2 separate regions of the Homo sapiens genome follow, and region 1 is linked to region 2. Evidence: promoter capture Hi-C in human tissues and cell types (Jung and others, 2019). All regions are on one chromosome and are shown on one strand. Each heading gives the region's core, a stretch centred on a gene start or on the middle of the fragment in contact. The rest is flanking DNA. Distances are from core to core; before and after follow the strand shown.

What was found. The method cuts DNA at HindIII sites, captures the fragments that hold promoters and counts their contacts. A contact is called where the count stands out against the background at its distance.
Region 1: a fragment that was not itself captured here is called in contact with the fragment with the promoter of PEX6 in region 2 in 1 of the 25 tissues and cell types used here (IMR-90 fibroblasts).

Annotation. Positions count from the first base shown.
Region 1 is chr6:42,690,704-42,695,422 of GRCh38, reverse strand. It overlaps UBR2 (ubiquitin protein ligase E3 component n-recognin 2), which reads right to left. Exons shown (of 47, transcript NM_001363705.2): 47 at 1,918-4,391. The coding sequence ends at 4,250. Among named protein-coding and RNA genes, the nearest start is that of PRPH2, 30 kb to the left of the region's middle. The HindIII fragment of the contact is 3,806 bases long and covers 330-4,135 here.
Region 2 is chr6:42,977,361-42,982,097 of GRCh38, reverse strand. PEX6 (peroxisomal biogenesis factor 6) reads left to right here and starts at 2,917. Exons shown (of 17, transcript NM_000287.4): 1 at 2,917-3,829. The coding sequence starts at 2,948. It overlaps LOC124900215 (a long non-coding RNA gene), which reads left to right. Exons shown (of 2, transcript XR_007059580.1): 2 at 1,255-1,556. RefSeq lists silencers at 658-876, 2,115-2,311, 2,966-3,345 and enhancers at 2,506-2,555, 2,716-3,657. The HindIII fragment of the contact is 12,677 bases long and covers 1-4,737 here.

The DNA of each region.
Region 1 (4,719 bases), core at 983-3,482, 290 kb after region 2:
TAAACCCCTAGTAACCTTAATATGGGTTAATAAGATTAGGTGCCCGCTCTGCACGCTCCCCTGCCCCTCCTCGTCCGGGCACCTGTTACACTAGGCCAGCATGTTTGCAGCTTAGCCAGGGAAAATCGTGGACCAAGACAGGGCTTTTCATCCACGACTGGCTAAAAAGATGGCTCTCAATGACAGCGCAGGCAGGCAGCACCACTGTGTTAGGAAGAGAAAAGTGTCTGTCCAATACTATGAAAGTCCAGGGAAGAGACAAGTGCCTTCCCAGGTCACAATGGATAGATTGGCTGGAAGGGGAAAAACATGTCAGTTCTTAACTCCTGACAGCATTTTATCCTGTCCATCACAGAGGACTGTAAACAGCAAAGTTACAGATTAGAGAATGCTGAGCTCTCAGGATGGCATCAAATGGAGGATTAAGATGTAAGGGACAACTTCTAGCTATTTACCTGAGGGAAGTGAAAATTCAGGTTTGTACAAAAACCCATCCATGAATGTTTGTAGCAGTAATCACCAAAACAATCACCCAAACTCACCCAAATGCCCTTCATCTGGCAACTGCCCAGAAGTCTGTACAACGGAATGCTACTCAGCAATCCAAAGGAACAGGGAGGACCCGAATGCATTCTTCTTTAGTGAGAAGCCAGACTCAAAATGCTACATATGATACAATTCCATTTATATAACATTCGGGAAGAGACAAAACAAAGGGAGAGAAAAACACTGGTAGCTGAAAGCCAGGATGAGGCAAGAAGCTGACTACAAAGGGGACTTTTGGGGAAGATGGAATTGTTCTATTTCTCGATTGTGGTTGTTTAACTGTATGCATTTGTTAAAATGTATAAAACTGTACACTAAAAAGAGTTAATCTGTTTGTAAAATATACCTCAATAAATGTGACTTAAAAAACAAGAGTAGGAACAGGCCAGGCACAGTGGTTCACACCTATAATCCTAGCATTTGGGAGGCTGAGGCGGGAGAATCATTTGAGCCCAAGGGTTCAAGACCAGCCTGGGCAACATAGCGCGGCTGTATCTACAAAAAAAATACAAAAATTAGCCAGGTGTGGTGGCATGTGCCTCTATAGTACCAGCTACTGGGAGGCTGAGGTGGGAGGATTGCTCGAGCCCAGAAGGTTGAGGCTGCAGTGAACCAAGGCTGTGCCACTGCACTCCAGCCTGTGGGACAAAGCAAGACCCTGTCTCTTTAAAAAAACCAAACCAAACCACCACCACACCAAAATCAAGAGTAGGAAGACAGGGAGGAGCATGTCAGAAGGGGCTTCATGAGTTCCTGGAACTAAAGACAAGAGTGGTGAAGGCAGTAGGCTGGGAGCAGTGTTACTGACCAGGAGGCAGGGTGAGTGCAATGGAAACCTTGCTGTTTTAGTTTGATGCTCTCAAGAGGATTTCAAAAAAAACAGAATTCTCATGGGCAATGACTCCCCTAGGAAGACAGTGTAGCTGCCTTTCTATGTCTCTCTCTCAAAAGCAGGAAGTGGTCATAAAAAAAAGAAAAAAAAAACCTCCAACAGCCCTGAAAAACCAGCCAGCACACTAGGGGAGTGTGTAAGGACAAGGACCTTGAGATCACCAGGTAAGGATGAACAAGAGTTTAAACCCAGACACAGGTCTTGGAGTGCCCTGTTTCCCAGTGATTTGAGTTCCAAAATGGTCCACAAAGGTCACACGCTGTCATGGCTAATGAATATGAAACTTAATCAGCTGAAATGATGATCACACTTTCTCTGAGAAGGTCAAGATAGTTTGGCTAGTGGCCATAATAATATAACCCTCTTAAATTTAAAGCTAATACAGATATCCCACTATATTTGTAGCAAGGTGACACGGGCACCTTGCTGTGGCAGGTAAATGTGTAAAATGAAACAGAAAGATATATGCTAACCAAAAGTAATGCCAACACCTAAAGCATTTATTTGGATATCTTTAAACTTTTTACATATGATACATTCCAAATTTTACAAGTTGTCCACAGATATTAAAGTTATAGCCAATTTATTAAACAGATATGATTTTCCCTGATATGGAAAGCGTATGTTATATAAACATTTCTACAATAAACATAAAACATGCGGAACAAATCATAAAACTAACATGATTTGTAAGGTAGGAAAGACAACTAGCTTAACACCAGAAAATAAAAAGGTGTGTATGTTGCAATTTCATGTAAATTCATCTTCTCCCAGGCTCTGTGATATTCTCAGAGAATGAAATCCAGAGACAACCTTTGCTAACTCCAGGCTCCTAGGAAGTCGGACCGGAAAGCTGGAGTATTGTTATGATTTGGTGAAAATGTTTATAATCCACTTGTACAGAGAGAAACCTGGTCTTATTATTTTAAATTTTAGCTTGGTGAACATATGAAAAAAAGCCAAAAGAAGCTTACCTTAAAAGCTAAAGAAACTGGATGTGACAGAGGCCAAAATAAACATGAATTATGCCACCTACAGCCCAAACAACCAGATCTTATGAATGAAGGCCAGAAAAAGGGGGAGAGAGGTGGACTCAAATGTGAATTTTCTTTCTATTGGTCCTCCTCTCAGCTGGGTGAGTCAGTCCCACGCAAGAATGGCGACGGTCATCCTCCTGTCAAGAGGGGGCGGTTCTTTCACACACTACCTTGGAGAGGAATGTGGCTTCTACATCCTCACTTCTTTTAGCTTCAGTTCCAGATTTCTGACCTTCTTCCTGTGATACTGTGGAGCATGCCTAGTTGACTGGTAGCTGAGTGGAACAAAACTTGTAGATGTAATTCAAAGAAAACTGATTGAAAGGGTCAGTTGCATTGGTTAAAAAAATCCAAGAGCCTCTTATTACTCATCTGTTCCTTAGCCCCACCTTAGACAGGCTCAGAATTTATTCCTCTACTAAGTCTTCAGTCACTCTCTGCATGTATTCAAGCTCTCAGCAGTCATACATCAAACAATAGTAGTTGTGTGGTACATAATAATTATAAGCTATTTTGTAAGTGGCTCTTGTTCTAGGAAGGCACCTCAGTAAGAACAATGATCAAAAAGAATAAAAAGCCTGGGTGCCAGACCATCCCAGGAATGCACTAAGTGAGCCAGCAAGGAAGCAGCAGCTTGTCTGTTCCAGGAAATGCTGGCTGGGTGGGAGTGGGTTCTCACCTTCTTCAGTGTTTGGCTTTAGATGATATACTCTGCCAATTTAGCCTTAGAAATAACAAGAGAATATCACTGTCTGAAACATTAGGGTATTCTAAAAGAATACAGATAAGAAAATTAGGATACTCTTTTAGAATACCTATTATTTTAAACTTAAGCTTGGTGAACATCTGAAAAAAAGCCAAAAGAAGCTTACCTTAAAAGCTCAAGAAACTGGATGTGACAGAGGCCAAAATAAATATCACTTATGCCAACCACAGCCCAAACAACCAGATCTTATGAAGGAAGGCCTCTCATCTAGATATTAGGATATCTAAAAGAATATCCTAAATTTTTAATCCATATTCTTTTAGAATATCCTAATTTTTCTTCCTAATTCTAAAAGAATATCCTAATTTTTTAGACCATCCTAAGTTTTTGGAAAGCCCTCTAAGTGAGTTTTCTCAAAGCCAAAAGTCTTGCCATAAAAAAAAAAAGAAAAAAAAAAAACCTCTAACAGCCCTGAAAAACCAGCCAGCACACCAGGAATCCACCTTCTCCCCACGGGCTTCTTCTGCATGTGTGTCCCCCAACTCTCTCATAGTCAATGGAGAGAAGGGAACACTGCCTTCAAAATCAACCACTTTGCTCCTAGGAGTAGGGTCCTGTCAGCAGAGGGGACACCAACCCAGTCCCAGTGTTGGGCCACTCAGTGGAACCAGGAAGTATGACCCAACAGACCACAGAGACTTTGTTCCCTGCCTCCGTTGAGTCAGCTTCGGACCCACGGTTCACTATCATCAATAACGTGAAATATCACATAATGGCTGGGACTATGCAGTCAGACCCCCACAAAGGGGCTGGGATCCAATCTAGGAAGAGAAGCTCCTTGCTCGATCTTAAAACCCAAGACATTATATTTGAGGGGCACAGCAAACAGTGCAAGAAAATCTGCTGATGGAAGATGATTTTCATCAGTCCTCAGAACCAGAAACTATAAAACTGGGAAGGAAAGTTTAAATAAAGAATTTATTTCCAAATTCAGCAGAACTTCTTTCTTTCTTAAAAAGCCAACTGGGTTAAAAAAATCCAAGTTTGTGTTTTTTGGTGGTGCAATAATTATAAATGTTGCCAGTCAATGCCAACCAGTGTCTGATTGGCTTCCTGTGCATGTCCAATTTCCTCTGTGACACTGTGTTGGTGCCAGAGCTTCTGAATCTTCTTGAATCGCTCTTTGCATAAATGTAAAGGATTTCCCCGTCTAGAAAGAGAAGACACATGTCACTCAGAATGTGTTCTGTTTATTCCTCTATTATAACCCAACCCTTCCTGATTTAGGCAAGGTTACAAGTTATTGGTTTTAGACTCCCTGCAACATTTCTGTCTGGCAGGTGACTGTGGCTATTAACAAAAACATCAGCTCTGACCCTTTGCCAAGAGCAGGTAAAAGGGAATAAGTGCTGAAATGAGGAAGGAAAGGTACACAAACCAGACTTACCCAGAGTGAGGTGAGGGAATAGAGGTTGCGGGGGATAAGGAGGGTCTGGGTTGAGAGGCTAAAACTACCAATTCATTGCCCATTTTGTTGG
Region 2 (4,737 bases), core at 1,668-4,167:
CATGAAAATGTGTAGAATCAACAGGATATGGTGATTCATTGTATTGTGGGGGGGACGGTAACGGAAAGGGAAGAGTTGAGGATGATTTCTGGAAGTGATCAGAGTTGTAGGAGGACAACTGGTGTCATAATGGCAAAGGAAATAAAAGACAATTGGTCAGTAGTGTCAGAGAAAGAACAGCATCATCTTGATTCTGCAATTAGAAGATTATGGGTGATTTTTTCAGAGAGTGGAAGACCGTTTTTAGTGAGTGGAAGAGTGAGCATCAAGAGGTGAGGAAGTGAAGATGGCAAATGTAGGGTCCTGGCGATCTTACAGAAGTAGTATTTGGCTTTCGGTGACTAATGACGATTTCAGGGTAACACAAAGTGGACTACATGCCCGCTGTTACCTGCTGGGAGAAAAGCTTGGGAGAAAAGGACATTTATTTGTGGGTGGGTATTTGTGTCTGTATGAGTGCTGATCCAGGCAAGATAACTGATGTTTTTACCCATCTCCAAGGCCTCAAGGAGCACTATAGTCCTGAGGCCTAGAGCTTGCCTGCTACTGAGGAAAGCAGGCATATCCTCTTTAGGCCCATGTACCATCTATCTAGCCCTTGGTTCCTCTGGGACATAGGGGACCAAGAAACATATAGTAGCACTACCAAATGGGAACTTTCATCCATGTGAATCTAGGTACCTAGAACATTCTTTATTTAGTTTTTTTTTCTTTTAATTTTATATATTTTAAGAGACAAGGTCTTGCTCTGTCACCCACTTGGAGTGCAGTGGCACAATCATAGCCTCAAATTCCTGGGTTCAAGTGATCCTTCTGCCTCAGCCTCCCCATAGCTGGGATTATAGACACAAGCCATGGTTCCTGGTTAGTACATTCTTGCATGCTATTTTATTTATTTTTTTCTATTATTTATTTTTTTGAGACGGAATCTCACTCTGTCACCCAGGCTGGAGTGCAGTGGCGCAGTCTCGGCTCACTGCAAGCTCTGTCTCCCGGCTTCACGCCATTCTCCTGCCTCAGCCTCCCGAGTAGCTGGGACTACAGGCACACACCACCATACCCAGCTAATTTTTGTATTTTTAGTAGAGACGGGGTTTCACCATGTTGGCCAGGCTGGTCTCAAACTCCTGGCCTCAAGCAGTCCACCCACTTGGCCTCCCAAAGTGCTGGGATTACAGCCATGAGCCACTGCGCCCAGCCCCTTATAATATGCAAATCTAATAGTTTTCATATATTTGTCTTTCAAATTTTCAGGAATGTATAATGTACAAAATAGAAGACTGCCTCAAGAAGAAAGGAGAGATGGAGAAAGCTGAGCAGTAGCTGAAAGAGAATGTAAGGTCTAGAAAATGGAGATTGGCACCATCCAATTCATTTATTGTAAGTGAAAATAATTGTTAATAATTGGAAATGCAGTGGGACATGATGGCTTATGCCTGTAGTCCCAGCACTTTGGGAGGCTGAGGCCTGAGGATCTCTTCAGACCAGGAGTTTGAGACCAGCCTAGGCAACACAGAGAAACTCTGTCTCTACAAAAAATAAAAAATTAGTCCAGGCGCAGTGGCTCATGCCTGTAATCCCAGCACTTTGGGAGGCGTAAGCAGGTGGCTCACTTGAAGCCAGGAGTTCGAGACCAGCCTGACCAACAGGGTGAAACCCCGTCTCTACTGAAAATACAACATTAGCTGGGTGTGGTGGCACACACCTGTAATCTCAGCTACTTGGGAGGCTGGGGCAGGAGATTCTTTGAACCTGGGAAGCGGAGATTGCAGTGAGCTGAGATCGTGCCATTGCACTCTGGCCTGGGCAACAAGACCGAAACTCCGTCTCAAAAAAAAAATTGGCTGGGTATGGTGGCGTGTGCCTGTGGTCCCGGCTACAGTTACTCGGGAGGCTGAGGTGGGAGATCACTTGAGCCTGGGACGGTAGAAGCTGCAATGAATGGGGATCGTGCCACTGTACTCCAACCTGGGTGACAGAGTAGGACCCTGTTGCCATAAAAAAGGAAATGTGGCCTACCACTAGCTGAGTGTCTTGTACAGAACAGTGGAGGTGAAGAGAAGGATGGAATCTAAATAACAGCACACGCAGGAAGTCGACTGTTGGTGTTATGCTGACAGAAGCCTTGAACTCCTTTCCTTCTGCCTGCTCTGCTGCCTGCCCCGCTCTAGGATAGAAAGTGAATGGGTTTCCGATCTGCAAGGATTTGGGGGGGGGGGGTGAAAGAAAAGCTGTTTTGTCTTCAACTTAAGTTTGGTGGGAGTAAAACAAACAGAACAATGAACAGGGCAAGAAGTCCTGGAACATGGGTTTTGTGCCAGATGTGCTGGAACATGTGTGGTGGCACCAAGCACTCCAGGGCTGTATGAATCACATCTAGTAATTCACTCAGCAGCCACTATATACCTATAAGCAAGTGTGAGACAGTTTTCTAATCCTGCTACTCCCTCCTGCAACCTTTCCTGCAACCCTCAAACCTCAGTGCTCACAGTTCCACAGGGGAAGCTGCAGGAGCTCCGCAGAGGAGCGGACTCCTTCCGAAACATTTCACCTAGAGCTCCCAGTACTGGGCCCAGTCATCCCGAGCATGCTGACTGTTCATTTATCAGTCAATAAACTGTTACGTTCATGCCACGGGGAAAAATAGTTAAGAGAACATTACTTCCGTAGAAGGCAAAGATAAATCCCTTAAGCACAAGTTCAAATGGCGCATGGGTAAACGCTACGCAACCGCAGCGATGAAGGTTACTGCCTATCGAGGCACGACGCAGATCAATCCGAGGCGCAGCTAACCCCCTCAGAGCAAGTTCGCGGCACCCGACCCCCCTCCCCTTTTCCTCTGGCCTCCCCTGACGGAAGCGGAAGCGGCCCTCGCGCACACTAGTCGTCTGGCTCTCTGGCTCCGGAAGCTGCGCTCCTTCACCCTCCTCGTTGGTGTCCTGTCACCATGGCGCTGGCTGTCTTGCGGGTCCTGGAGCCCTTTCCGACCGAGACACCCCCGTTGGCAGTGCTGCTGCCACCCGGGGGCCCGTGGCCGGCGGCGGAGCTGGGCCTGGTGCTGGCCCTGAGGCCTGCAGGGGAGAGCCCGGCAGGGCCGGCGCTGCTGGTGGCAGCCCTGGAGGGGCCGGACGCGGGCACCGAAGAGCAGGGTCCCGGGCCGCCGCAGCTACTGGTTAGCCGCGCGCTGCTGCGGCTCCTGGCACTGGGCTCCGGGGCCTGGGTGCGGGCGCGGGCGGTGCGGCGGCCCCCGGCGCTAGGTTGGGCACTGCTTGGCACCTCGCTGGGGCCTGGGCTCGGACCGCGAGTCGGGCCGCTGCTGGTGAGGCGCGGAGAGACCCTCCCAGTGCCCGGACCGCGGGTGCTGGAGACGCGGCCGGCGTTGCAAGGGCTGCTGGGCCCAGGGACTCGGCTGGCTGTGACTGAGCTCCGCGGGCGGGCCAGACTGTGTCCAGAGTCTGGGGACAGCAGTCGGCCCCCACCCCCGCCCGTGGTGTCCTCCTTTGCGGTTTCTGGCACAGTGCGGCGACTCCAGGGAGTTCTGGGAGGGACTGGAGATTCACTAGGGGTGAGCCGGAGCTGTCTCCGTGGCCTTGGCCTCTTCCAGGGCGAATGGGTGTGGGTGGCCCAGGCCAGAGAGTCATCGAACACTTCACAGCCGCACTTGGCTAGGGTGCAGGTCCTAGAACCTCGCTGGGACCTCTCTGATAGACTGGGACCCGGCTCTGGACCGCTGGGAGAGCCCCTCGCTGACGGACTGGCGCTTGTCCCTGCCACTTTGGCTTTTAATCTTGGCTGTGACCCCCTGGAAATGGGAGAGCTCAGAATTCAGGTAGGATAAAGGACTGGGGTCAGGAGTGCTTCCTCTTTCTTATACCCTCTTCTCTGTCTTAGGTAAATTGGAAGATTTAGGACTCGTGCCCCATATCATCCCGGACTTTGAACATAATGTTTCTAGCCGGGCGCGGTGACTCACGCCTGTAATCCCAGCACTTTGGGAGGCCGAGGCGAGCGGATCACTTGGGGTCGGGAGTTCGAGACCAGCCTGACCAACATGGAGAAACCCCGTCTCTACTAAAAAAATGTAAAATTAGCCGGGCGTGGTGGTGCATGCCTCTAATCCCAGCTACTTGGGAGGCTGAAGCAGGAGAATCGCTTGAACCTGGGAGGCGGAGGTTGCGGTGAGCCAAGATCGCGCCATTGGACTCCAGCCTGGGCGATAAGAGTGAAACTCTGTCTCAAAAAAAAAAAAAAAAAAGCATAATGTTTCTTAGCCTCATTTATCTATTTTCTTTTTCTTTCTTTCCTTTTTTTTTTTTTTTTTTTTTTTTTGAGATGGGGTCTTGCTCTGTCACCCAGGCTGGAATGTGGTGATGCGATCTCGGCTTACTGCAACCTCCGCCTCCCAGGTTCAAGCGATTCTCCTGTCTCAGCCTCCTACTACTGGCTCGCGCCACGACGCCCGGCTAATTTTTGTAATTTTTAGTAGAGACGGGGTTTCACCGTATTGGTCAGGCTGGTCTCGAACTCCTGACCTCAGGTGATCCACCCAAAGTGTTGGGATTACAGGCGTGAGCCACCTCACCCGGCCTATTGATCCATATTCTGTAATCAAAATATCATAAGCCTCCATAATGTAGTGGGGCATACAAAAGGCTTTCATCCATTCAGGTGAAAGGTGAAGTTTGGGTGTGGTGGTGCATGCCTGTAATCCCAGCTACTTGGGAGGCTGAGGCAGGA